Linked DNA regions of Homo sapiens: all the other regions are linked to region 3. Evidence: promoter capture Hi-C in 16 types of primary human blood cells and fetal thymus (Javierre and others, 2016). All regions are on one chromosome and are shown on one strand. Each heading gives the region's core, a stretch centred on a gene start or on the middle of the fragment in contact. The rest is flanking DNA. Distances are from core to core; before and after follow the strand shown. Region 1 overlaps CFAP45 (cilia and flagella associated protein 45). Region 2 has its middle 27 kb from the start of CRP. Region 3 holds the start of CADM3-AS1 (CADM3 antisense RNA 1). Region 4 holds the start of IGSF9 (immunoglobulin superfamily member 9). Region 5 has its middle 22 kb from the start of DUSP23. Region 6 overlaps LOC124904436 (a long non-coding RNA gene). Region 7 has its middle 29 kb from the start of LINC01133.

Region 1 (3,843 bases), core at 655-3,154, 690 kb before region 3:
CTTGCTGTGACTTCCTCTTGACCTGGGTACCAAGGGCATAGGAAACAGGAGATGCAGGCTCAGCCCTGGAGGAACCTGCAGTCTGGCGGACACTTCAGCACAAGGGAAAACCTGTTGGAGTCCTTGAAAACAGACAGGAAAACAAATGGAAAACAATAATACTTTCCATCTGTATTCCAAAGCCCTTTCACATACGTTATTATCCACAGTGGAGACCACATACGTGATCTGGAAAACATGGAATGGTGGAGTGACTTGGAGTCAGGCAGTTGTATTCCGGAAAAGTATCCATCTCAATCTGGTCTGCAGTCCTGTCCTTGAGAGGTCACCTTGTTCGGTTTTATTCATTCTTCATCAAATGCACATTGCTATATTGTTCCTACTACATGTGCCAGGCACTGCACCTTTTCCCTTAATTACATACAAAACTCATGATCCAAAGCCATCCACCTTTTCCAGTTATTCCCAATGCTTAGCCTCAATCCCACCTACTGAAGTTTCTATTCATTTCCTCTTATTCTATTTTTGGTGGAAAGGGGAGCCGTAGCTCACCACCTACCATATAATAACCCTTCAGAGGCTGTTATTAGGCATCCTTGGGGCTGCTATATTTACCTTTTAATAAATCCAAGCTTTTCTGCTCTACAGTATTGGGGCTGGCTGACGCTGTAGAGGGAGACTCCCTGTGTAAGCCTTTTGCTGGCTGTGCCGGGCAGTGAGGGAAATGCACATATAGCATTGTTCAATGTACAGCACAGAGACAGCTGGAAAATAATTGTCCAATCGAGTGTGAAAACCTGATACAGGAGTAACAGGTGCTGGGGTGTCTGGTTGGTAATGGCAGATCAGAGAGAGCTTTCAGAACACTGTCCAGGGCTTAGGGACCTGGAAAGCATGGTATATTTCCCTGTCTACCCTGTTCCTTTATCAGCTGCTGATTCCCAGGCTTGGGGAGACCCAATGTGCCTGGCCTATTCCTTCAAGGTAGCCCAGTTTAGAGAGGTGTGGGGCATGTGGGCTCCTCCAAAGTGAGGTTTGAATCAGCTTTATCATAAGCCTGGAGTCATCCAGTAGTCCTTGTAGACACTACCTTTTAGAGATAGACGTCTACTCTTGGGACTGAGATGAAGCTGCCTGTCCTTTGGGAATGGAGGTTGTGTTCGTCAGATTCTTAGTTACAAGCAACAGAGCCAGAATTCCAATTTAAGTAAAAGAGAATGTGTTAAGAGGGTTTTGGAGAGCTCACAAATAGGAACAAAAGAAGTTTCTGCAGCTGGAACCAAGACCAAAATCAAAACCTAGAACTGGTCTGGCAAGGACCCTGATGCACTGTTGCACCCCCAAAACTGCCAATTCCTTACATAGGGTGCCGCTGCTGGTATCGTTATCAGTGTTGCCCAGACGCTGGGTCTGGCTGCCAGTTCTGTTTGGGTCAGAAAGGTTTTCCTTGTTCTGCCTTTTGGTCCACTAGTTCCCTAGTCATTGTCAGTCCAGGGCCATCTCATTGGCTAAGCCTAGGTCCCTTGGCCAGGCTGAGGTGAATATTTGATGTTTTCAGCTTCTGTAGTTGGAGAAGAGCACTATCTCCCACAACTCATTAGATGGGGAATTTGCCAAAATAGGAAGTTAGTAGGGGGTTAAAAAATGACTAAGGCACACTAAAAGGGTCTTGGGAGAGAAACAGCCAAATAGTGGGTATTATGAACTGGTTTGCTTGATTATAGCTAGTAATCATTTATCATTCACCCACTGCCTCAAGTTTATTGGGCATCAACCACATGCCAAGCAGTGGGTGAGGCACTTTTCCATCCTTTATATCCTGTGGTCCCACCATAACCTTGTAAGATTGTGGAGACACGAAGGAGGTCAAACAGTAGCGTCATTTGTGAGAAAGACTTGAAGCACAAGCTGAAAAGATTGGAGGCAAAGGGGACACTGTGCGTGTCTCAGGGGGCAAGCCCAAGTTGCCCCACAAGAGATTGTCCTCTTGGGAAACTGGTACTAGGCAGATAATGAGAAACTGTTGCTTCTCTCCTCCTGCCATTCCTGCTTCCTTTATCCTTACTTCCATACTATGTGGCCGACTTGGCCTTCAGCTTCAGGGACTACAGAAATGCTCTTAAAAAAACCCCACAAAAAACAAAACAGTTTTGTTTTTAATTGACACATAATGATTGTACACATTTATGGGGTATAGTGTGATGTTTTGATACATGTATATACATTGTGTAATGATTGAATCAGGGTAGTTAGCATATCCATTACCTCAAACACTTGTCATTTCTTTGCAGTGAGATCACTCAAAATTCTCTCTTCTAGCTAGTTTGAAATATACAATGTAAATTAATATACATTGTATACATGTATATTTATATATATTATTGTATACATGTATATTAATATACATTTATATATAGTAATATACATTATTGTTAACTCTAGTCATTCTATTGCGCTATCAAATACTAGACCTTGCCATCTCATTTAATCTTATAACATTTATATTTCTCAAAATCCTCTCCTAGATATTGTGTATCTCTTTTGAGATATACAGTACATTATTATTAACTATAGTGGCCTTTCTGTGCAATAGAGCACCAGAACTTATTCCTCCTATCTAACTGTAACTGCGCACTCACTGACCAACCTCTCCCCATGCCCCTCCCCTTCCTCTCTTCAGCCTCTGGTAACCACCATTCTACTCTGTACTTCTATGAGATCAACTGTTTTACACAAATGCTGCTTTATGCAGAGCTCTTTTTTTTGCAGAGACCCTTCCCTGCTCTGTGGGGATGCCCTCCATCTGTTGCTCCTTGTCCCCTATGGTTCAGAGTTTACACAGCCGCTTTCCCTAACTGTTTCTTTTTCACATGCCCACCCACTCCCCCAGCATGGGCTGGTGAATTGTTGACTTCCCAGGGTCTGGATGCCACTCAGTACTGATGACCCAAACTTTCTGCCTCTTCCTGCAGCCACTAAGCACAGCTGGCATCCTGAGCTCCTCTTCTGCCGCTTCCAACAGGTCAAGGAATAAGGCTCGCTATCGGACCAAAGCCGTGAGCTCTGAGGTGGATGAGAGCCTCTTTGGAGATATCAAGGTAATCCTCAACAAGTCCTTTCAAGTTGATGCCACCTGCAGGCAGAGGCCCAAAAATGTAGCTCAGGGCAAAGCTTCTGCTGAGTAACCTTGCTCTCGTAGGTAACTCTCAGACTGAAGACAAAGGGGAATTCTGAGACCTGAGCTGCAGAGCTTTGGGATCTAGTGGGGCCTATGTAAACAGGGACACCTAGCTTCTTCCACCCTAGAATCTCTCATGTCTTCACAGTGTTTAAAATCTGTTATAATGTCAAAAGGGAGGCTCAGCTGCAGAGAGTGCAATAGTTGCTCAGTTGAGCTCCATGATGGAAACATTGCAGGGCTGATGGGCTAAGCTTGCAGACAATAGCAACATCTTCCCCGCTCCATCCAAGGATAATAGCATCAGAGTACAACACAAAACCATCCTCCTTTCCCAGTTGCTCAACTAAAACAATTACTTAGCTTTGGGAAACGAGCAGGTCTTTATTTGCAAGTGTTATCTAGACCAAGAGGTGGACAACTCCTTTAGTCTAGATAAAGAGAGCTAGATAGTAGAGCTTTGACTGATTTTGGTACATATGGAGTTTAGTAGGTAAGAAGGAAGAGAGGGAAGGAGAAAAAGAGAATATGACATGGAGAGAAGGGCAGTGAGAGATTAAGAGAAGGGGAAAAGAGAAAGAGAGACACTAGTAGTGACCTGAATGCCTCTGCCAGTGGGGAAGGTGGGGAGAGGAGTGTTGATGTCTGTCCCTGCTCTTCAACAT
Region 2 (4,064 bases), core at 934-3,433, 540 kb before region 3:
TTGTAAACCTTCTATAGTTTGAATTTTTCCAGTCTATTATATTGACAGAAATGAAAGTCCTGTTCTTTGCTTCCTTTTTAAAAATCCAATTTTTTATTTTGAGAAATAAAAAAATAAAAACTACAAAATATTATTTCAAATACATTTGATCCTACACCCAGAACTGGAAACTCTTTGATTTATTCCATGAATATTTATGTGCCATATACTGTTCTAGAAACTTGGGAAAAATCAGCGAAGAAAACAAAAAAAACAAAAATCTCTCTTTCCATAAAGCTTATATTCTAGCATAAGAAAAACACAATGAATAATAAACGTAATATAAAATTATATTATGTGGTCTGTAAAAGGGGATAAATGCTCTGGAGAAATAAAAACAAAACAACTAGAGCAGGATTTGGGAATGAAGAGTGTGAAAAGAAGACTGACTTTTTTTTTCCTTTTAAAATAAGGTGATCCCCAACAATAGACAAGCAGAGAGCCAAATCATGAGTGAACTACCATTCACAATTGCTACAAAGAGAATAAAATATCTAGGAATAAAACTTATAACAGATGTGAAGAACCTCTTCAAGGAGAACAACAAACCACTGCTCAAGGAAATAAGAGAGGACACAAACAAATGGAAAAACTTCCCATGCTCATGGATAGGAAGAATCAATATTGTGAAAATGGCCATACTGCCCAACGTAATTTATAGATTCGATGCTATTCCCATCAGGCTACCAGTGACTTTCTTCGCAGAATTAGAAAAAAACTACTTTAAATTTCATATGGAACCAAAAAAGAGCCCATATAGCCAAGACAGTCCTATGCAAAAAGAACAAAGCTGGAGGCATCATGCTACCTGACTTCAAATTATACTACAAGGCTACAGTAACCAAAACAGCATGGTACTGGCACCAAAACAGAGATATAGACCAAGGGAAAGAGAACAGAGACCTCAGAAATAACACCACACATCTACAACTATCTGATCTTTGACAAATCTGACAAAAACAAGCAATGGGTAAAGGATTCCCTATTTAATAAATAGTACTGGGAAAACTGGCTAGCCATATGCAGAAAACTGAAATTGGATCTCTTCCTTATACCTTTTACAAAAAATAATTCAAGATGGATTAAAGACTTAAATGTAAAGCTCAAAACCATAAAAATCCTAGAAGAAAACCTAGGTAATACCATTCAGGACATCGGGATGGGCAAAGACTTCATGACTAAAATACCGAAAGCAATTGCAACAAAAGCCAAAATTGACAAATGGGATCTAATCAAACTAAAGATCTTCTGCACAACAAAATAAACTATCATCAGAGTAAATAGGCAACCTACAGAATGGGAGAAAATTTTTGCAAGCTACCCATCTGACAAAGGTCTAATATCCAGAATCTACAAAGAACTTAAACAAATTTACAAGAAAAAAACAAACAACCCCATCAAAAAGTGGGCGAAGGATATGAACAGACACTTCTCAAAAGAAGTCATTTATGCCACCAACAAACATATGAATAAAAGCTCATCATTGCTGGTCATTAGAGAAATGCACATCAAAACCACAATGAGATACCATCTCATGCCAGTTAGAATGGCGATTATTAAAAAGTCAGGAAACAACAGATGCTGGAGAGGATGTGGAGAAATAGAAACACTTTTACACTATTGGTGGGACTGTAAATTAGTTCAACCATTGTGGAAGACAGTGTGGCGATTCCTCAATGATCTAGAACCAGAAATACCATTTGACCCAGCAACCCCATTACTGGGTATATACCTGAAGGATTATAAATCATTCTACTATAAAGACACATGCACATGTATGTTTACTGTAGCACTATTTACAATAGCAAAGGCTTGGAGCCAACCCAAATGCTCATCAATGATAGACTGGATAAAGAAAATGTAACTGATATACACCATGGAATACTATACAGTCATAAAAAAGAATGAGTTCATGTCCTTTGCAGGGACATGGATGAAGCTGGAAGTCATCATTCTCATCAAACTAACACAGGAACAGAAAACCAAACACTGCATGTTCTCATTCAGAACAATGAGAACACATGGACACAGCAAGGGGAATATCACACACTGGGGCCTGTCGGGGGGTGGGGGGCAAGGGGAGGGAGAGCATTAGGACAAATACCTAATGCGTGTGGGGCTTAAAACCTAGATGATGGGTTGACAGGTGCAGCAAACCACCATGGCACATGTATACCTATGTAACAAACCTGCAGGTTCTGCACAAGTATCCCAGAACTTAAAGTAAAATTAAAAAAAGTAAGGTGGTCCTTGTAGGCCCCACTGAAACAATGACATTTGGGTAAAACTTGATGGAGATGAGGGAGTTGACCAGGTAGATTTCTTGGGGAAGAACATTCCAGGCAGGGGGAATAGCTAGTGCAAAGGCCTTAAGGTGGGAGTGTGCCTGATGGGTTTGAGGAAAAGCAAGAAAATCTGTGTCACTAGAGCAGATTACGGGGAAAATCCAGAGAAATGGGGCACAAGATGACAATAGAGGAAAGTCATGGAGGGAATTGAAGGCCACTGTAGAAGACTTTGGCTGAGTGACATGGAAGTCATTGAAGGTAATTATTTTTTCCCCTAAGAATAATACAAAGAACTTTCTGTTTTATGAAGCATTTAAGGATAAGTTGCCAATGTGATACCCTATTACCTGTGCTAAGGTTTGAATGTATGTGTCCCCCCCAAATTCATATGTTGGCATCTAAGCTGCCATGTGATAGTATTAAGGGGTTGGGCTTTTAGGAGGTGATTAAGTCATAAGGGCTCCATCCTCAGGAATGAGATTACTGACCTTATAAAAGGGGTCAAGAGAATTATCTAGGCCTGTTCCCTCTTCCATTTCTGCTGCCATGTGAGGACACCGTGTTTGGGGCACCATCTTGGAGGTAGAGACTGGGCCCTCACCAGATACTAAACCTTCTGCCACCTTGATCTTGTACTTCCTTCCCAGCCTCTAGAGCTGAGATAAATACATTTCTATTATTTATAAATTACCTAGTTTGTGGTATTTCCATTCCAACAGGAATGGATACCCAGACTGCTCATGGCACTGCGTGTCTAAGACACCGTTAAACACTTTAATGTATAATTTCTACAAGCAAGGATATTTTCCTTTACAAGTACATAACAACAATCAAAATAAAAAAATCAGCACCAATATATTAGTACCATCTTATCCCCAGACCCTCTGCAAATTCACTAATTCTTCCAAATATGTCCTTTTTAAAGCAAAAGTACCCAATATAGATCACACATTGCATTTAGTTATCATGTCTCTTTAGACCCCTTTATTCTGAAAGAGTTCTTCAAATTGTCTTAATGTTCATGACATTGGCACTTCTGCAGATTACAGGCCAATTGCTTTGGAGAATGTTCCTCTTTTGGAGTTTGTTGGGTGCTCCCTTGTGATTAGAATCAGGTCAGTTATTTTTTGGCAGTAATATCACAGAATAGTTGCATTTTTCTCCTCATTACATCTAGTCAGTGGTACACAATTTGAATCTGTCCCATTATTATAAATGAATGCATGTCTGGATGCTTGCTGCTTGCAGAATCCAATTAACAAGAGTGAGGTCTGGAAGAAGGAAAGTGGTTTTATTAACCAAAACTAGTACTGGGGAGGTGGCCAGATTCCCAACCAAAGCAACCACTTTGAACTACTGGGGAGAAGGCAAGGTTTCAAAAAGAAGGGACTTAACAGGGGAGACATGCAGGAGTTGTGCTGAGCTCAGGTCTGTGTGTCTTGTTTCGATGGCTATGTTGGATTTCAGTCCACCTGGAGCGTGAGCTGGCATCATCTCAACAATGGCCATGTTGTTGACTAGTTGCCTTGAGTTAATCGCTGGAATTCTGCAGCTGGATTTCCAGGCTTTGTCTGTCTCAAGATTAGCCCCTGGAACTTCTAAGTAAGCATATAATTAGATACAAGCATACAGTTAGATAAATGTGCATGGTGTAAGAGTGTATGGTGAGAAAGGGAGCAACCTGGTGTTTTAAAGAAAGTACAGTTCAAAGCTGTGTGTTAAGACTAAGGAGAAGAA
Region 3 (3,639 bases), core at 282-2,781:
ACTGAGGGGCAGAGCTGGCCAGCAGAGAGAAAGGGCATCTACCCTGCAGGCAGGCCGATTCTCCCAAGCACATTTCACTTTTTTAGTGGCTTCTTCCCCCTCCCTCCCCTCCTCAGCTGTTTCCCCAGGATCGTCACTGTTTCATCACCCCTCTCTGCTTTTATTTCCTCAGCTAGGGAGACATAGTGGGGACTTTGGGAGCGGTGAGCCATGGCGTGTCCAAGTCAGAACAATGAGATAGAAAGGGCTGGTTAGGGGACGCTGTTTCATTTGTCCAAAACAGCATCGGCTGCTTCATCTCCAGTGTTGTTAAGGACCTTCTGTCCCATTCATGTAGGGCTTCCTAGGGGGCCAAGCACCTCAGACCTAAGGTGCAGAAGGATGGGTACCTCGTAGAGATTTCCCCCTTTTCTCCCAAGACACTAGCTCAAGTTTCAGGTTCAACATGAAGGGGCTGGAAAGTGAATTTGGTCTGGTGGTGTCTGGTGATGCTCTGCAGGGTGGGGTTGATGGCATCTCCATCGCCGTCTTAACATTCTCCAGCAATGCCTGGCAGAGGGTGGGGGGAAGCAGTCAGATGCCCCCCAAGACACTCTCTGGAAAGGAAGGGCTTAGCAAAAGGAAGTGAACACACTTCTCTCCCTTGTAGAGTTATATTGTTGCTGTACATAGATATTCTTGAGAGTGGCCTGGCAAGGGACACACCACCTTTTGAGGCACCAGGCACCAGGTGCAAGGGGTATGGGAAGAAGACCCTCACATACACACATCCCAGCAGCAGCAAGAGGACCAGAAAGGAGGCAGCTGAATGACACGGATAATCCAGATATATTGAGGGTGACCCCTCTGAGATTAGCACAGGAGAGTTAGAAAGATTATAAAGATACACGGTCCCCTCCCTGCTCCCTTCCCCCACCCCCCCACCCCTGGACAGACACACACAGCACAACAGCCCCTCTCCCTCCCACCCCCCCGTACAAATATGGCTTCTGTGTAATATGGACAGAGTGGTTCAGCTTGAAGAGGAAAAGTCATTTTCCCAAAAGCGGGTGCTGGGAGACAAGAAGCTCAACAGGCCTGGGGCCCCAGGGCTCTCTTGCTGTTGTAAGAGGAGTAGGCCCCGGCTTAGGTGAGGGGCTGCCTGTGGTGCCCAAGGCCCTAACCAGCGGCTGGAAGATTCACAACTGTATTACCTGAACTGAAGGGGGTGGGCAGGCCTGCTAGATTGCAGCTGCCCCTTTTTGCATGCCCATTGTCAGACCAGGGAGGAAAAGCTGGGGGAGGGTGGGAGCGATGCCAAGGGCATCCTGGATCTGAGGCGGGGCAGTCCAGCCAGGACAGGGAGGACCAGGAACCTCATCTCCACAGCAACCAGCTGGGGCCACGAGAAGGAAGACAGGAAATCAAAAGGAAGGGTGGGGACCCAGCCTTCAACTCACTGGGTACAGACTATGGGAAAAAATAGGTGGTGGTAGGTCTTTCCAGGGTCAACGCCAAGGAGAGGCCTGAGAGGTGCATAGCAAAGGCTGTGGCACTGACTCCATGGCTCAGAGGAGGGAAATCCAGGGAAGGGCTGAATGCTCTGTGTTTAAGGGAGAGATAGAATGGACAGCTGGGCAAACACACACCCGGGGACTCCTTTCTCCAAGACCGATGGGCATTGGGGGTGGCAGAGGAAATACCAGCATGGAACAACATCCCAGGTGAGGTGTGAACCCTGACTAGGAATACCCCATTCCCAAAGCCTCCCCAACATGTCCCACAGCCCTGTCCACTTGCCCAGGACCCCTGGCTCTTAGCCCTCCTCCTCAGTTCCTCGCTCTGCCTCTCACTCACTCACACACATGCACACACACACACACACATGCACACATGCATACACACCACACACATGCACACAGTTCACATTATTCCCTTAGTTTGGGCAGGAAACAGCTCACTGCAGTGAAGCTCCTTTTAGTAGTTTTGTTGTTATGTCTGCCTGGCTGCTGAGGGAGGAAGGATGAAGGGCTGGCGTTGGGACCAGGAAGGGGGCACAGGGTGGCCGGGAAGGGAGAAGTAGTTGCTGAGCAATGCCATGGGAGGAGTGGTTGCCGTGCAACAATCCAGAGTCTTGGGTAAGAGTGAGGGGCCCCTCAGGGGGGGAAGCAGAGGCAGTTCAGGCCCCAGAGCAGTGCCTCTCCCACTGCTGCTGGAGCAAGGAGGGGCAGCCACACTCTGCTATCTCCAAGGGCAGTTCCTATGGAAAGGGCCCGGCTTTGTTCATTTCCGGGGGGAATGGGGTGAGAGTCCACCTCCATCCTTCCTCTCCAAATCTACTCTTCCTTGCAGGGACCCGCGTCCTCCCCAGGTTACAGTCCTGGGTCCCTGCATGGCTGCATGTTGTCTGCAGGCCACATCTCCTCAGGACTCCCGCACTCATCACTTTCCCATTGCTATGGAAGAGAGGTGTCAAGGTGGCACCTGCCTCCCTGTCCGTAGTGCTCAGGTGTGTGGCTACCAGAGGAAAAGCCACTCCCAACCTTTGCCGACAACCATCCCGTTTCTGGGTTCCTGGAGAAGTCTGGGAAGCTGCTCTGTTGTAGAGGCTGAAAGGAGGGCTGGTGAGAGCCCCCAGCTGAAACCAGCCCTGCCCCTTACCCTTCCTCACCCCTCTACCTTCACTCTCCTCCTAACACTCCAGGGTTTTGTTTTTTGTTTGTTTTTTGCTTTTCTCACCCCAGGGCTCCTGCCTCTCCAGCCTGGAGACAGATTTGATTTGGGATTGTTACAAAAATAATAATAACCCAAATGCAGAGAAGCCACGGAAAGGGCTGAGGGCAACCCTCCCCTCCCCCCGCCCTCCTCCCTCCCCATTCCAAACCGAGTACAAAACCGCACCCAAAGCAGACATTCTGTACAGGGGGGTGGGTGGGCTGGGGAGCAAGCGGGAGGGGCGGCCCTGCGGTTGCTCTGTACAAGTCCGGGTTGGTGACGGCCCCAGCAGTCCCCACAGGGCCCCTGGGGGGCGCAGGAAGTGGGCAGGCGCCTCTAGATGAAATATTCCTTCTTGTCGTCCCCTCCTGACTGCCCGCCTTCTGCATTGATGATGGCCGTGTCCGCGTCTGGAGCATCGTCGGAGCCTTTTGCCTCATGTGTCAGGTAGGTTCCTGTGTAGAGACAGAGGCTTCTCCTCTCAGGAGCAGCTTCCCAACCTCTGAGTCCACCCTGCCCACTTTCTCACCCACCCACTCACACACTGCTCAAGTAATTTTTCTCTTGCCAATAGCTCTCTTCTACTCCACCTTACCTAATTCGCATTTTGCTTCCAACATGCCTCACCTGACCACACCCTTCATGAATAATGAATCCTACCCCTAAGTAGAATCTCATCTATAATACAAAGCAAGAAAGAGAAGTGTGTGTGTGTGTGTGTGTGTGTGTGTGTGTGTGTGCTTGCACGCATGCGTGTGTGTGTGTATGCATGCGTGTGCACGCAACTTGGTGACGGGGGATCTGCTATGTCAGCTTCATGAGCAAAGCAATTGAGATCTGGCTTATGTATGACCAGCCTATGGAGTCAGGCCGCTGGCTAGAATTAATAGCAGAGCAGGAAGTCTGAGAGGAAGGAATGTGAGAAGAGGGTAGAGAGAAGGCATG
Region 4 (3,936 bases), core at 1,228-3,727, 740 kb before region 3:
AGGAGGAGGGGGAGAGAGAGAATATTTTCTGATATCCTTGTCAGCAATTTGAAAATATGGGGGCTGCCTGATACTTAGGTTAGGTGGAATCCTCGTTGGTTGAATAAGCTTTCCCAGAGAGTAATGACTATGAATCAAGGACAACCTAGAGGAAAGTCTTTTGTTTTGAACCTCAGGGACTATTTTTTAAATCAGCTTTCACTCCTGGCACAGTGAGGGAACAAGTTATAGGGCTAGGTTCCTTTTCTTAACAAAAAATCTCCAATATACATATAAATCAGACAAAAAATGGCAATAACAATAAAAGTCACAAAATAAGTTTCCAGAAAAAAAAGGCCATATCATAAACTTTTAAAAATTGAAAACCATTTTAAATGTCATTTAACAGAAAGTTATTTTAATGTCTAAATGAGATTAGTTTATCCTCAAGAAACCACTGGAGACAGCAGTTTAGATCAAAGGTGTGGCCAATTCTAACAGCGGGGAGGGAGATCCTTCCCAATGATTGGTAAAGATCCAAAGACTAAAAAACACTTGGCTCGGCCGGGGGCAGTGGCTCACACCTGTAATCCCAGCATTTTGGGAGGCCGAGGTGGGTGGATCATGAGGTCAGGAGTTCAAGACCAGCCTGGTCAAGATGGTGAAACCCCATCTCTACTAAAAATACAAAAATTAGCCAGGCATGGTGGTGGCCGCCTGTAATCACAGCTGCTTGGGAGGCTGAAGCAGGAGAATCGCTTGAACCCGGGAGGTGGAGGTTGCAGTGAGCCGAGATTGCACCACTGCACTCCAGCCTGGGCGATAGAGTGAGACTCTGTCAAAACAAAAAAACAAACAAACAAAAAACCCGCTTCACTCTTTTACCATTTCTTCTAGCCTTGCTTCCATGCTGCATTCATTAACATGTTTCCATTATAGTCTTATCAATAGATCAGGGTATTATGTTGAAATGCATTGTTGAAAAGCTGCTACTTTGGGACTATTTGCAGGAGGGATGGTGGGAGAGACTGGCCCACTGCTCCTGCCTCTTCCCTTCCATCTCAGTCACCCAAAAGCACTAAAACCTTTACACCTGGAAGAACTGTCCAGCAGGCAGAGCTTACTAAGGATGGAATGGGTACAACAGTAGTGCTGAGCTTCCTGGCCCAGGATGTAATGAGATAGGGGCTTGGATGACTACATGGAGAAATGATGTGCCAGGGATTCTGGGGCCAAGTAGTGCTTAGGCCCATCCTGGAGGTTCTCTCATGATGCTGCAGCAGTGATTCTGTGAGTCTGATGCCTGGTGCACTCAGTTTGAGTCTTAGTACTTCGGATTGGGATGAGATCAGCACGTTGCTTTCATGGAAGGCTTCCAAGGGAGCCAACTGAATGGGAAGGACCTGGACAGGCAATGTTGCTTAAGCCGACCCAGCATCCCTACAGCATCACCAGGCTGAGGAGGTGGAATCTCTGAGGGGCAAGATATGCAAGATATCTTTGTGTCTGAGGGCGAAGCCTCCAAGGGAGTAGGTTTGATGAAGTTTGGGTTGGGTCTCAATCCAGCTCTGCCATAACCTAGTTGGGAAAGCTTGGGCCAAGTTACTTCATCTCCCTGAGCCTCAGTTTTCTCATTAGTCAAAGGGAGCTCTACTTACTTCGCAGGGTTTCTGTGAAGGTTACACAAGAGTTATAAAGCATCTAGTCCAGGGTCTGGCACCCTGCATGGGTCCAGTAAGTGATCTTGTATTTCATTCCTCCCTTTCAATCTCCCGTGTCAGGATATCTGTCGTTTCTCCCCTCTGGGCCTGTTTCTCTGGGTCGTTGGTGCCAGAGCTGCCTTGGGAGCTGACTTGGCAACCCCACGCTCAGAGCACAGCCTTCCTCAGCTGCACACGGTGGGAGGCGCCTGGGCAAGATTTGGGAGCTCGCCAATGCAGACAGGTATTTCCAGTCCTGCTAGAGAAGCAATGGGTGGAGGTAGAAATGGGGATGGGGGAGGAGATCGGATGAGCCCGGGACCTGGGTGGATCCCCTGGGAGGAGGGCGGGGAGTCATGCTCCCCGCCTGGTTCTCCTACCCCCAGGCTCAGATTTCAACCCTCGCTGCCGCCTCTGTGGCGCGCCCGTTCGGGGAGCGGAGAGGGTCGCCCGTAGGTTCCGAAAGAAGGACGGCGTACCAGTAGCCTGGCAAGGGGCCAGCTCCCGCAGCCCTGGAGCGCGAGCCGGACCCTGCTGCCCCTCTTGCTGGCGGCGGGAAGCGGCCCACCGGCCTTTCCACGCTTGGCTGTGCAGAGGTCCACGAGGGGGCGACCTGAGCCCACGTGCAGCCGAGCTCTTCCCTCCTGAAACTACAACTCCCAGGCCGCTCAGGGGTCCCGCCCGCCTCGCCGTGCCTCTGGCGGCTCCAATTGGCCGCCGCGGGAGGGGGATTGGCGGTCTCCAGGGCGACGGGAGGCGCTCGGGGCATCCGAGGCGGGGAGGCGGGTCCGCCCCCTATTGTGTAGCGGCGAGAGTGGAGCCGAGCGGTGCGGAGCAGGTGAGGGAGGGGGCGTACTGGAGGTATAGAAGTGGTGGTGCTGGTAGTGCGGAGTTATGGGGGACAGGAGAAAGCGGGGAGTTCTAGAGAGAAGTGGAATTCGTTGCAGGAGTAGAACTAGGGGAGTTCTGGGGAGTGAAGTGGAATTCTTGGCGGGTGGGTGGGAGTTCCCGGAGAACTGCAGGAGTTCTGGAGGCAATGTGGGGGAGTTCTTGGTGGGTTCTAAGAGAAAGGAGGAGTTCCAGGGGACCAGAGAATGCGAGGGAGAAAGGAATTGTTGGGGGTGGGGTATCAGAATTGTATTGTGGGCTGATGCAGGAGAATCCCAGGGAGGGGAATTATCGGGAGGAGAGGATGGGGAGAAGTGGCTGGGGGGTGGGGAGACCAGAAGGGAGTTCTTTATAGTGCAGGAGACCTGCTGCAATTGGAGATCAGGTGCGAGAAGCTGGAATTGTGGGGGGATTGTGCGTAGTAGCGATAACTGGGAAGGGAGTAATGGGAGGACGAGGGAGTGGTGTGTGGGGAGACTAGAAGGGTGAGGAAATAGTGGAGGCCGGGGGAGTTGGAAAGATATTAAGAGACTGGGAGGAATTCTAGGGATGCCTAGTTACTCAGAGTCTCGGAAAACAACCAGGAGAGAACTAGGGGGTTCCTATATACTTGGAAAAAGGTTTTTCAGGGAAGTGTGGGAGAGCTGCCTGGAGGCAGTGGGAAACAGGGGGCTTGGTTGCTAGTGAATTGCCAGAAGTTAGACATACAGGATCATTAAGTAGAGGCAAGGATCAGACTCTGTGGAGGATGTTTTATAGTCTGTCCTGAACTTTGCGGCCAAGAGTGGGTTGGAGGACTCAGAGCAGAGTCCACTTGGCAGTGCCAGGCCCTGGCATGGACCCTCTGGCTCTCTGAGACTGCCCTAGGATCTGTGGGGCTGTCAGAAGCTCCTACCCTCCATGCCCCAGGGTTAATTTTGTACACTTCAGGGACTCACAGGCTTTTTTTTGGACCATGCCTCTGGGGTTGGGGAAGAAAGAGCTTGACAAACCCTGGCACCCCGAAGATATTGGAGGGGAGTGAGTGGGAGGGATTTGGGTGAGGTCCTTGGGTGGTGGTGCCTGGCAGGGGGAGGGCTGCTTGGCAGTATCGTGAGGAAGTGGCGCCAGCTGCCAGCCCCGGGACCTGTCCAGACCTGGAGGATGCTGCCTGGATCCCCCATACTGGCAGGTGGGGGAGGCAGCTCCTCCTCTCCCAAGTGCCTGACTCACTCACTGCCAAAGCAGTGTAGGGAGACTGAATGGAGAAAGGCCTCGGGTCCTCAGCTTCCAGAGTTTTTCATAGAGGCTGGGGAAATGGGACAAGGGATTGTATCGGGGTGTCCTGGGGACCACTTTCTGAGGCTTAAGCGCCCTGGATTTGCCCTTG
Region 5 (3,731 bases), core at 1,047-3,546, 560 kb before region 3:
AGGTATTGATGGGACGTATTTCAAAATAATAAGAGCTATCTATGACAAACACACAGCCAATATCATACTGAATGGGCAAAAACCGGAAGCATTCCCTTTGAAAACTGGCACAAGACAGGGATGCCCTCTCTCACCACTCCTATTCAACATAGTGTTGGAAGTTCTGGCCAGGGCAATTAGGCAGGAGAAGGAAATAAAGGGTATTCAATTAGGAAAAGAGGAAGTCAAATTGTCCCTGTTTGCAGACGACATGATTGTATATCTAGAAAACCCCATTGTCTCAGCCCAAAATCTCCTTAAGCTGATAAGCAACTTCAGCAAAGTCTCAGGATACAAAATCAATGTACAAAAATCACAAGCATTCTTATACACCAACAACAGACAAACAGAGAGCCAAATCATGAGTGAACTCCCATTCACAATTGCTTCAGAGAGAATAAAATACCTAGGAATCCAACTTACAAGGGATGTGAAGGACCTCTTCAAGGAGAACTACAAACCACTGCTCAAGGAGATAAAAGAGGATACAAACAAATGGAAGAACATTCCATGCTCATGGGTAGGAAGAATCAATATCGTGAAAATGGCCATACTGCCCAAGGTAATTTACAGATTCAATGCCATCCCCATCAAGCTACCAATGCCTTTCTTCACAGAATTGGAAAAAACTACTTTAAAGTTCATATGGAACCAAAAAAGAGCCTGCATTGCCAAGTCAATCCTAAGCCAAAAGAACAAAGCTGGAGGCATCACACTACCTGACTTATTTTTTAAATTTTTAATGACCAAAACAAAACATCTAAAACCACAGCTTTTGGAAGAGCCACTTGTTCTTGCCCAGGTTTTACCTCTCTTTGATTTTGACTTTGGCCTTCCTTTGGGCCTTGTGTTTAAGAGCAGGGTCTCTGAAGACATCCTTGTTGATGACAGTTTTGTCCAAGGGGGTATCCACAGAGTGCCTTGTGGGCATGAGATGATTGTAGTTATAAACTTTCACAAAAGACTTGGTCTTTGACCTCTGGGTGCTCTTCTTGCCCATGGCAGCTGTCACCTTGCAAGGATAACAGTCAATTCCAGCCACCAGAGAACAGCTGACGGGGCATTCTAAGGTGCCATCATCAATGTTCTTCACGATGATGGTTTTGCATCCAGAGTAGCATCCGGTGTAGTGTCTGGCCTGGACCAACACTACTTTCCCAGGTTTTATGAACTTGCCCATTTTGACAGCAACCACCCAGGCCTACCTTCGTCTTATTTAAGGGAAGTGAATCTACCTCCTACTTGGTTGATTTTTAAGGCATATGGACTATCTTTTTTTAGCAACACAGATTTTATGCAGTTCATAGTCTTGTCAAATGTTACAGTTTGGACATCTCTTTTGCCCAATTCCTACCAAAAGCTTAATTAGAAGACTTAGCAGTTCTAATTGACAGCTGAATATATAGTTTTTTTTTCTTTTTAGAGACAAGGTCTTGCTCCGTCACCAGGTTGGAGTGCAGTGACATGATCGTAGCTCACTGTAACCTTGAATTTGTGGGCTCAAGTAATGCTCCCTACACCTCAGCCTCTATTAAGGATATATTGTTCTTTCATTATCCTAGGTAACTGTTGCTCGATAGAACTTTCTGCATTGATGGAAATGTTCTGTAATTGTGTGTCCGTCGTTAATAGTCACTAGCCATGTGTGGCTATTGAGCATTTGAAATGTGGCTGTTAAAACAAAATAATGGTACTGAAAATGTTTTATTTAATTTTAATGAAGTTTAAATAGCCACTCACGCCAGTGGCTTCCATATTGAACAGCACAACTCTGTAATTCTAAATTTTATCCCTGAATCAAGCTGAAGTATTTCTTCTTTGGCTTTCCAAAGAATAGCATTTATTGAATAGCAAATTTCTATTTTTTCCTTAATCATGGTTTTAAAACATATTCTCACTTTCTTGGATCTCACTCCCGCATCAAAAGATGGAGACTAAAATACCCTTCCCTTGGATATAGGTTGGTCTTCGTGGCTTGATTCTAGCAAATAGGATGTGTTAGAAGTGATACTATGTGATTTTTGAGGCTAGCTCATAAAAGGTGCTAAAGTTGGCTTGGTTGTCTCCCTCTCAGCACTTGAGCTTTCATGTAAGAGTTCTAGCTGCTCTAACACTGCCATGCTGGAGTCACATGGAGGGACCTCGAGAGGTATCTGAAGAGGACCAACTGTTCTAGCCTCCAGCTGTTTGAATCTTCCTAACTTAGGCTCCAGGTTACTTCGGACCCAGTCACTTTGTGACTACATTTCTGTAAGAGACTGTAAGTGAGAATTGCTTAGCTTAGCCCCTCTATCCCCAGTAAGATAATAATATACAATGCTGTCACTTTAAGCCACTATTTTGGTGTTGTGCAGCGATAGATAACTGGAACACTCTTGTAAAAGAATACTGCAGGAAATAGTTCTATGAAACTTTCTGGCATATTCATTGTTGGGATTTTTGAGTACAAAGTTTACTACATCAATTTCTTTTGAATTTAGTAACAGGAAAATCTGTATTTTCTTGAGCAATCAATAGACTTTTACTTTAATACATTTTTGCTTTGGTTGCTATGAAGCTCAAAGCTAAATTTATGTCCTACTTCGTAAGTAAATAGGACCATCAATAATTTATTTCTGTGTGTTTGCTTTTTATTTGGCCTTATCTTACTGTTTTTTAAAAATTTACCTTTTTCCTTTTTAAAGACCTTAATACAGTATATATTTTGTCAAGCCATTTCCAAAAGTGAATGCAAATAATATTGGGCTTTTGCTGAACCAGTGTGAGCTGTAAGATCATCCAGTAGATTAGCAATGATGGCTGAGAGAGCTCTGGAATTTTATAACTCTTCAATGACCTTATTTTATAGGAAGACAATAAGGCTCTGAAAACTGAAGTGACTGCTGAAGTATACACAGCTAGTGAGCAGCAAAATCTCAGCCCAGGAGAAGCTGTGTCTTACTCCTCATTCACCCATATAGCACCCATTGGTCAGATACTGATTCTTTATTAACTGTCAGCTCTGGGTCTGGTTACTTGAGGATGGGATGGTGGTACAAAGATAAATAAGAGTCAGCAGAGGAATTGAATCTCCAGATTATGCCTGGTGGGACATAGTACATGTGTTTAAATATAAAGTAATATGTAACATAAAAGCGGCACAAGTGAAGCTTTTTGAATGTTCAGAGGAATGAGAGATCACTTCCAACTGGGCAATCACAAAAGCTTCAGGAAAAAGTGATGTTGAGTTAGGCCCGGAAGGATGGACATGCTTCACACGTGCAGGTATTAGGAGAGATGATGGGGTGAAGCAAGAGAAGATTAGCTGCCGTGAGTTGAATACTGGGAATTTTAGGCCCTGTGGCATTTGGTGGGGATGATATTTTGAGCAGGGGGATTGTGCCACATCTCAAATTACACCAGGCAAGTAGTTGCTTACTATTCTGTTTATGGGATCAACGCTGCCAAGGGCATGCTACCTGCAAATGTGGATGGGAAGGATGAGAGAGAGAGAGAGAGAGAGAGATAGAGAGAGAGAGAGAGAGAAAGAATGCTAACTGAAGCTTCTACATAGCTGACTGCTCAGAAAACCCAACACATGGAGCTATGTTCTGAAGTAATTGCCTAAAACCTTTATCAACAAATAGTTTTTAGACTTTGGTATGGAGGAGAAAATTCTGGAAGAGAATCTACAACATTTCACAACACTGCAA
Region 6 (4,168 bases), core at 246-2,745, 810 kb before region 3:
AGGTAGGCAGCCTCATCTCTGGCTGAAGGGCTCCTCCTGGGATTGTCACAGCAGCTGAAGCCCACCGGGGCAGGCAGCAGTACCCCTCCAGCCAGCATGGCGGCCCTCCCCAAGAGCAAACCTCATCAGAACCTCTGCTCCATTCTCCATGCCTTCTGTGCTGTGAACAAGTCTTGAGCATCCCTGGGACCACCCGGCCCTCCTTGAGAGCTCCAGCACCTGTTTCCTTCTCAAGGTGGTGGTGGAGTTTGAATTTGACACTGCCCTCAACAAAATGACAGTCTTATGATCGTCACTCATCTCTGGTCCCGTCACACCAAGGAGTGGAGTGTTTGTCCTCTTCTTTTGCATAGGTCATTTCAGCTGCAAGTTACGAAGGGAGAGTGTTAAATGCATTGACTCAGATTGTCATGCTGAATTGGAAACACTGGCTATTCCACTTGTATTGACTCTCAAGTTGAAAAGTGGGCCTTTTGTGCATTCAGCATGCCTCCCAGAGCCTAGCAAGGAGGGTAGAGATGGATAGGCAGCTTCTTTTTTCCAATCCATACTTGAGAAAATTTCAGCTGCATCAGCAGGTTACAAGGGAAACTACCTGAATGCCACCTGGGATTTATAGCCACCTGGGGGATAAGCATTTGTTTCTAATGTGGAATAAGATAATCTTTTCCTCCTAGCCTCTGGACAATAGAAAGGGAGTCTGACCATTTGCCAAACACATTGTGGAAGGGGAAAGTACGTAGAACTGGAGATTGGACAATGTCCTTAATACTCTTCCTTTACAGAAATTCTGTGACTAGTGTTTTATTTGACTAGAGATGGAGGGCTCCATCTCTCTAATCTTGAAGTCCTGAGATATGTGCCTGCTTGTTCAATGTCACCTAAGGCTTTTTAGTCAGTGTTGAAGGATGGGGCTGTCTTATGATCACACAGATATGTTTTATTGTCTTAAGGGCCTGACAAATCAGGGATACCTTCTAGTTAAATTCCTCTTTAAGGGCCTGAAGTCTCCTTAGTACTCAGCATGCAGTTCAGATGTTTCCCTTTCTCCTGGGAAACAAATAGGATTCTCAAATTGTGACTTTGTTAATTGTTCTTAAGCAAATTGCATTAAAATTTATATGCACCTTTCCAAGAGAAGATAAATTACACATGTTAAAGGAAGGAGAAGAAAAGACACAGTGATTATGAAATTCCTCAGAGAAAGGTTCTTTGTTCTTTGCGTGCCTCATAATCTATCTGTCAGAGCAGACCTGTCCATTCAGCAGGTCTAAGATGGCAGTGAGTTATGATTGGGGGACTCAAGCTTATCATCCTCATTCTCGGGAATATAATTGAAAGGTCAGAATACTTCCCCTTTGAGAGTTATCCAGCTTTGCCCAGGGGCTTGGCTGTGGTCCATGGGTCTTTAACTTGAGGACAGGGGGAAGGTAGGGTAGGGAACGTGGTCTTAGATTTCTCAGATATTTGAAAATAACTTTATCTTCGGTCAAAATCTGGAAACTGTACACATTACAATCAAGTGTTTCTTGGACTTTCTAGGGTAGAGGAAAAATGGGACAATGAAATAACTCTTTTATTCTTTTATGTCTGTTGGAGTCTTGAAACTCTCATCACTTTGCCCCGATATCATTCAGTCGGGCCCAACCTGAGCAAGAGAACATCTCTGATTTGATAAGCTTCTAAAGTAGTGTACATATTGCATTTTGACCACAATAAGACAGATTATGCAGAGTGCTATGAGACAGAGACAGGCCTAAAGAACTTCACTTTCTTTTTCTTTTCTTTTTTTTCTAACATAAAAGGCTGGGCAATTATTCAGGCATTGCCCATGCCACTCCTGACCTTGTGCAATTGTCCAGAAAGTCCCTGAGCCCAGAGCTGGGTGCAGGCTGTGCCTACAGCAAAGTCCTTGGGGGTAACCGGTAGCCTGTGGGGGAGGGGTACTGTTATGACCTCCTTTTACAACTTTCGCAAGGGCAGGCAATCTGGATCAGTGGAGTTAGCTAATCATAACTTCCTCAGTTATTTTATAACTCTGTGCCTCAGTTTCCTCTTCTCTAAAATGATGATAAAAATAGAATGTACTTTTTAGAGATGTGAAAATTAAATGAGGTAAAACTGTTAGGAGAGTTTCAGGGCTAGAGTAAGTGCTTAATCAATCATTATTTATGACATTATTACCTTATTTGGATCATTGAGGAGTAAATTTCTCTCTATTCTTGAATAGAAATGCTTAATAATCAAACAATTTGGTTTCTAAGTGAAGATGAGCTTTTAGTGGGAAATTTACAGATATCTTATGCCTCCCCTTCTTGCCTATACAAAGCCTGTATTCTTGGTTGGGACACCAAGAGCCTTATAAACTTTGCTTAAGCACAACAGAGAATATTCACAAAGTCTCTTAATCTCATCCAATTCCCATGAGAAGGAACACTGTTACATAGTGATGACAGTGGATCTCAACTGCATCATGAATTCTTCCCAAGAGACTCCTGAAACATTTATTTTATGGTAAAGATGCCTTCCAGCAAGATTGACTATAAAAAGAATTTTCTCTCTCTCATTGACTTGTTTTATAAAATCAGAGATATGATCTCATGGAAGAAAATCTTCCAATTGATTTGACAAAAATGCTTAGTTAAAGAATGAGTAGATGATGTGTTTGTTTTATTCCACAACTAAATTGTAAGTTCTTAAAGGGAAGGGAGCTAGATTCCTATTTTTGTAGATTACAAAGATTCAGTACATCGGACTGACCTGGTGGCTCATGCCTGTAATCCTAGCTACTTGGGAGGTCAAAGTGGGAAGATTGCTTGAGCCCAGGAGTTTGAGGCTGCAATGAGCTGTGATCGTGCCATTGCACTCCAGCCTGGGCGACAGAGTGAGACCCTGTCTGTAAAACAAAACAAAACTAAACAAGAATAGATTTAGTACAGGACCCTAAAATGTGCGGGGTACAGTAAATGTTGACATGGGCTGACCAGGTCCGAATAGTAGAAACAGAATATTTTTGAAACTTTTAAGAAGAAAATTCGCTTATGAAAAGATAATAATAGATGTGCCTAGATGTGGGAGTGAAGACAGTAGCCACACTCACTTGACTCTGCCTTTCCTAGAGGGCCCTGAGGGTGTCCTTTAGTGTTTTGAGGGCCTCTGAGAGGGCGTGACCCTGTTTGATTGAAGATGAGGCTCCTGAGACCAAGTGACTTAACCAAGTCTATACCAAGTTATTTATGGTAAAATCAGGACTAGGACTCAGACCTTTAACTGAACATGGAGATTCCAAGATCTCCCTTCTGCTTTCTCTGTATGAAAGGAATTTTTCTTATTTTGATTTATACCTGAGACTAGTATAATTCCACATCAACCAGCTCCTGTTAAATTTCCTGTGAAAGGAAGTTGGATGCAATATCACAATTGACCAATAGATGTCACTATATGCCATATTATTGTGCATGTGGCCACCTGTCTGAAATTTGCTTGAATTTCTTAATTGGGGTGGGGTCTGCAGACTTCTGGGAATCACTGGATCTGTTTGGGAGACACAAAAGAACTATGAGAATTTTAAAAATTGTATCTTAAGCTTGATAAAAGTTTTATCAAATCAAGAGTTATTCGACCTGCTATAAAGGCAAAACTCTTACTTGAAATCTTTTTTGATAGGAAAAAAGGGATGTTTTTCAAGTTGAGTTCCCTGGATGAGAAGTGGAGTTAGTGGGGCTGTGAGGAGCCCCTAACTTCTATTCAATTGGCAAAACCTCCCCTTCCACTTCATAGAGAGGAGTCTGAGGGATTGAAGGGCATGAGATTTGAAGTTCAACACAACTGGGTCTGAGTTCTGGTTCATTCATTAGCTGTCTGATCTTGAGTATGTTATTTAACCTCGTCTAGCCCCACTTCCCTCAGCTGTAACATAATGACACTGATCATATGGTGTTGTAAGGATGAAATGAGACGATATGTGAAAACACAAAGATTAACTGTCATTATTAACTATGACCATTTCACTTTACGAAGGCATTTTTATAACTAAAAATGCTTGGAAAGTACTAACTAGTCCAAGTTTCCATTTTAAAAATGGGACTTAAGAGGCCAAGTTATTTGGTTCTCTGATTATGTTTTACAATTTCATAATACAAGTATTTATGTAAAACAAGACATGCCT
Region 7 (3,688 bases), core at 336-2,835, 790 kb before region 3:
GAAGTGATGTGGCTCTGAGCATATGGGAGAAGCATGACAGCTTCTGCTATGTACACCTGCTGGGGCTGATTGATCAATTCTGTTCCTTCACAGGTTTCTCATGAGTTTCATCTCTTAACTTTATTACTTTATTCTGTTTCTAAAGCTTAATTTAACATCCCTCTTTTTGACATCTTGAGTTATATGCTTACTTCATATATTCTCATTCTTTCTTATTTGATAATTAAAGCAATTCAGGTTAGTTATGGGGAATCATTGAGAAACCACTTGTAAAAGTGCTTAGCACAGTGTCTGGCAGACAGTAATTGCTCAACAAATGTTCATTACCATTTTCCTCAAACCCTTTGAAGTCACTTCTGTTAAAAGATAAACTTTAGAGAAATTAACATTAGCAGAGCTTAACTGGGCAAATAATGACTTGTGAATCAGGCAGCTTCCCAAACTAGAATAGGATCAGAGTGACTATGGCGCTGCTGTGTGGTGGAGCAATATTTACGAACAGGAAAAGAAAAGTGACTTACAGGAAACAGAAGTGAGGCACAGAAACAGCTGGATTGGTTACAGCTCAGGCATTTAGCTTATTTGAACACAGTTTGAATGGTTGGCAGCCTGTGATTGGCCCAAACTTGATTGGCACAAAAGTAGGCTACAGTCTGTTTATACATCCAGGTAGGTTACAGTTCACGATGTACTGAGAAGCCTTTAGACCGAACTTAAAATAAGTAAGTCTGCAGCTTTAGGCTAAAGTTGATTTTACACTTCTGATTACAGATGTGGATGTCTTCTCTTGATGTTGATATGTGGTATTTTCATTATCATTATTGCCCAAGAGTTCTGTAAATTGCAGTTTTCGTTTCCTGTTTGATCCGTGGATTATTTTGAAGAGTGTTTTCAAACCAAGTAGTTGGACGATTTTTGTTTACACATTTTTTCAATTTCTGGTTTTACTGTATTGTGGTATGCAATGTAGTCATGAAATTTCTGGGCTTGAAATTTATTTAAGGTTTTTAGTGGTTTAATATGTAATCAATTTTAAAAAATTGTTCCATAGACCCTGAAAAAGATTTTTTTTGTTTTTTTTTTCAATATTTACAAAGTGGATCCCAGCAATGACTTTTTTCTGACATTCTACATCTTTTGTTTGTTTACTTGATCTGTTAAGAACTGATGAAATCTCCACAGCAATTGTGTTTTGGTCATTTTCCTCTTATTCAGAAACTAAAGATTTATGACAAACACATCTTCATTGCAGATCTTGATTTTTACTACTTATCCTTTATTTTAATAGTTTAGGACTTTAATTCTTTTTGTATACTATATCTTTTTCTATCTTTTTATTTTTTATTTTTATTTATTTATTTTTGTTTTAGATGTGCCTCTTGTGGACAGTATATGGTTAGATCAAATATGATGATCTTTGTCATTTCATAGAAAAATATAACTTATTTAGATATACTGTGACAACCAATATGTTTGACTTTCTGATGAACTTGTCTGGATTCATTGGAATATATAATAGGAAAAAAAATTTGTTCTTTGTCCTTGGCGCAAAGCTCCTGAAACCTTTGAAATTTCCTGAGCAATAGGAGCATCTTTTGTTATTCATTATGCACCCCTTTCAGCAATCTGTGTTTGTGCTAATGAGGTGACTCTTGGCAGGGTCCCCTAGATCACTTTAAGATGGGAGCTAGTTCTGATCAAGTTCTGATAAAGCTCAGAAGTTTCAGCTCCACCCCCTCCTCATATGGGGAAGGGAGAGGGGCTGGAGATTGAATTTAGTCACCAATGACCAATGATTCCATCAATCATCCCTATGTAATAAAAGCTCCATAAAAACCTTTAAACAATGAGGTTCTGAGTTGGTGAACACGTTCACATACTGGGAGGATGGTGTATCCCAACTCCATGGGGACAGAAGCCCTGTGCTCCGGACCCTCCCGGACCTCATCTTCTGGGCCTGTTCCTTTGGCTCTTCATTTGTATCCTTTATAATAAATCGGTAAATGTAAGTAAAGTGGCCCCTGAGTTCTATGAGTCATTCTAGCAAATTATTGAACCCTGGCAAGGGGTGGGGTGTGGGAAGCCTGACTTTGTAGCCAAGTCAGATGCAAATGTGGGTAGCCTGGAGATCTGATGCTTGTGACTGGCATCAGAAGTGAGGGCAATCCTATGGGACTGTGCCCTTAAGCCTGTGGAGTCTGCCCGCCACTGAGTCTCAGAGTTGAACTGAATTATAGGATACTCAGTTGTTGTAGGAGAATTGGATAATAGGTTGGTGTAGGAAAAAAACACACACTTGGCAAAGATGAAAATCTGTTTTTAGTGTGTGTGTTTGCTAATATTTTAAAAAATATATTTGCTAGTTAGACTATAGGGATTGGACCAGACCAGTTCAGAGATGATTCATGTTGCTTGGGAACAAGCCCTTTATAGCTGCTGCTGCTTTTTGTTTGCAGTAGCTTCTCATGCCCGGGCCCTTCTGCCTGTTTCTCATGAAGGCTGCTGTGCTGCAGAGCCTGTCCAGACCATCCCATGTGGCCTGCTCCTGTGTCCAGCGCTTGTCTCTCAGAGTCTCACTGTGTTGCCCAGGTTGGTCCTTCCTGGGATCAAGGGATCCTCCTGCCTCAGGCTCCCAAATTTCTGGGATTACAGGCACGAACCACTGTGCCTGGTGTATTCCTACAGTATTGTAAAATAACATAGTCCATAGAAATCATGCCCTGTACTGCACTGAAAGAACACTTAGAATTTTCTTTTGCCTAATTCCAAGTCTCAGGTCATTTTAGTGACACAATTTTGCTGTTTTTCGCTCATTATGAATTATTCTTTCTGAGATGGATGGAGATAGAAGATCTGGCTTGAGTCCTTTTGTTGCCATGTTTTACATAGAGGGCCCAAAGAAGCATTCATATTCTTTTGCAGCTACCTCCTGAAAGAGGATTTTCATTTCTCTTGTCAATGGACTATGGGCAGGTTCAATATGGTCTTGGCTAAACTAGATGTCTTAAAGTGTAAAAGAAGCTTCTCCAAAATTTATCACAAATGTCTTATTAATTTAAAAATGCAAACACAAAATCTCAAATAAGGAATTACATTATATGCTTGTTTAACTTAAGCAAACCCAACTATGTATTGAGCAAGGGAACACTGTACTATTATTATTATTATTATTATTATTTTTTGAGATGGAGTCTCTATTGCCCAGGCTGGAGTGCAGTGGCACAATGTTGGCTCACTGCAACCTCTGCCTCCCAGGTTCAAGTGACTTTCCTGCCTCAGCCTCCCAAGTAGCTGGGATTACAGGCATGCACCACCACATCTGGCTAATTTTTGTATTTTTAGTAGAGATGGGGTTTCACCACGTTGGCCAGGCTGGTCTCAAACTCCTGACCTCAAGTGGGAGGTCCACCTTGGCCTCCCAAAGTGCTGGGATTACAGGCATGTGCCAGTGTGCCCGGTGAGCAAGAGAACACTTTAAATAGTAAGAGAATCTCCACCTGCTATTCCATTCAATGAATATACACCACAGAATGAGAGTGAGAAGGAGAGGCAAATCGGCTTTGCCTAAATCTCAGTTATCTTGTGTGATATCTTAGTATGCTGAGTGTGATTCTAATGTTTAAAAACACTTGTAGTTTTGAACCACATGGTTCCTAAATGAAAGCCACCTTCTTTGATTGGTACTGTA

The links. Contacts are between HindIII fragments. The CHiCAGO score rates a contact against its expected background, and 5 or more counts as called.
Region 1: a contact is called between a fragment that was not itself captured here and the fragment with the promoter of CADM3-AS1 in region 3, in 5 of 17 cell types (erythroblasts, megakaryocytes, M0 macrophages and 2 more). The highest score is 10.4, in erythroblasts.
Region 2: a fragment that was not itself captured here is called in contact with the fragment with the promoter of CADM3-AS1 in region 3 in 1 of 17 cell types (M2 macrophages); the score reaches 5.4 in M2 macrophages.
Region 4: a contact is called between the fragment with the promoter of IGSF9 here and the fragment with the promoter of CADM3-AS1 in region 3, in 3 of 17 cell types (M2 macrophages, megakaryocytes and erythroblasts). The highest score is 6.5, in M2 macrophages.
Region 5: a fragment that was not itself captured here is called in contact with the fragment with the promoter of CADM3-AS1 in region 3 in 3 of 17 cell types (M2 macrophages, M0 macrophages and endothelial precursors); the score reaches 11.9 in M2 macrophages.
Region 6: a fragment that was not itself captured here is called in contact with the fragment with the promoter of CADM3-AS1 in region 3 in 1 of 17 cell types (M2 macrophages); the score reaches 7.5 in M2 macrophages.
Region 7: a fragment that was not itself captured here is called in contact with the fragment with the promoter of CADM3-AS1 in region 3 in 1 of 17 cell types (naive B cells); the score reaches 5.3 in naive B cells.

Annotation. Positions count from the first base shown.
Region 1 is chr1:159,892,435-159,896,277 of GRCh38, reverse strand. It overlaps CFAP45 (cilia and flagella associated protein 45), which reads left to right. Exons shown (of 12, transcript NM_012337.3): 2 at 2,973-3,098. It overlaps LOC124904434 (a long non-coding RNA gene), which reads right to left. Exons shown (of 3, transcript XR_007066678.1): 2 at 3,777-3,843; 3 at 3,052-3,133. Among named protein-coding and RNA genes, the nearest start is that of MIR4259, 5.7 kb to the left of the region's middle. The HindIII fragment of the contact is 2,539 bases long and covers 635-3,173 here.
Region 2 is chr1:159,739,623-159,743,686 of GRCh38, reverse strand. No RefSeq gene overlaps it. Among named protein-coding and RNA genes, the nearest start is that of CRP, 27 kb to the right of the region's middle. The HindIII fragment of the contact is 3,809 bases long and covers 279-4,064 here.
Region 3 is chr1:159,200,314-159,203,952 of GRCh38, reverse strand. It overlaps CADM3-AS1 (CADM3 antisense RNA 1), which reads left to right and starts at 1,531. Exons shown (of 4, transcript NR_037870.1): 1 at 1,531-1,703; 2 at 2,332-3,141. It overlaps CADM3 (cell adhesion molecule 3), which reads right to left. Exons shown (of 9, transcript NM_001127173.3): 9 at 640-3,149. The coding sequence ends at 3,031. The HindIII fragment of the contact is 9,224 bases long and covers 1-3,639 here.
Region 4 is chr1:159,944,154-159,948,089 of GRCh38, reverse strand. IGSF9 (immunoglobulin superfamily member 9) reads left to right here and starts at 2,477. Exons shown (of 21, transcript NM_001135050.2): 1 at 2,477-2,517. LOC124904438 (a long non-coding RNA gene) reads right to left here. Exons shown (of 3, transcript XR_007066684.1): 2 at 1,638-1,938. RefSeq lists an enhancer at 1,854-2,354 and a silencer at 2,197-2,491. The HindIII fragment of the contact is 10,806 bases long and covers 1,573-3,936 here.
Region 5 is chr1:159,756,658-159,760,388 of GRCh38, reverse strand. It overlaps the pseudogene RPL27P2. Among named protein-coding and RNA genes, the nearest start is that of DUSP23, 22 kb to the left of the region's middle. The HindIII fragment of the contact is 1,789 bases long and covers 1,402-3,190 here.
Region 6 is chr1:160,007,051-160,011,218 of GRCh38, reverse strand. The region is part of intron 3 of LOC124904436 (a long non-coding RNA gene); the gene reads left to right. Among named protein-coding and RNA genes, the nearest start is that of PIGM, 23 kb to the left of the region's middle. The HindIII fragment of the contact is 373 bases long and covers 1,309-1,681 here.
Region 7 is chr1:159,988,583-159,992,270 of GRCh38, reverse strand. No RefSeq gene overlaps it. Among named protein-coding and RNA genes, the nearest start is that of LINC01133, 29 kb to the right of the region's middle. The HindIII fragment of the contact is 2,876 bases long and covers 148-3,023 here.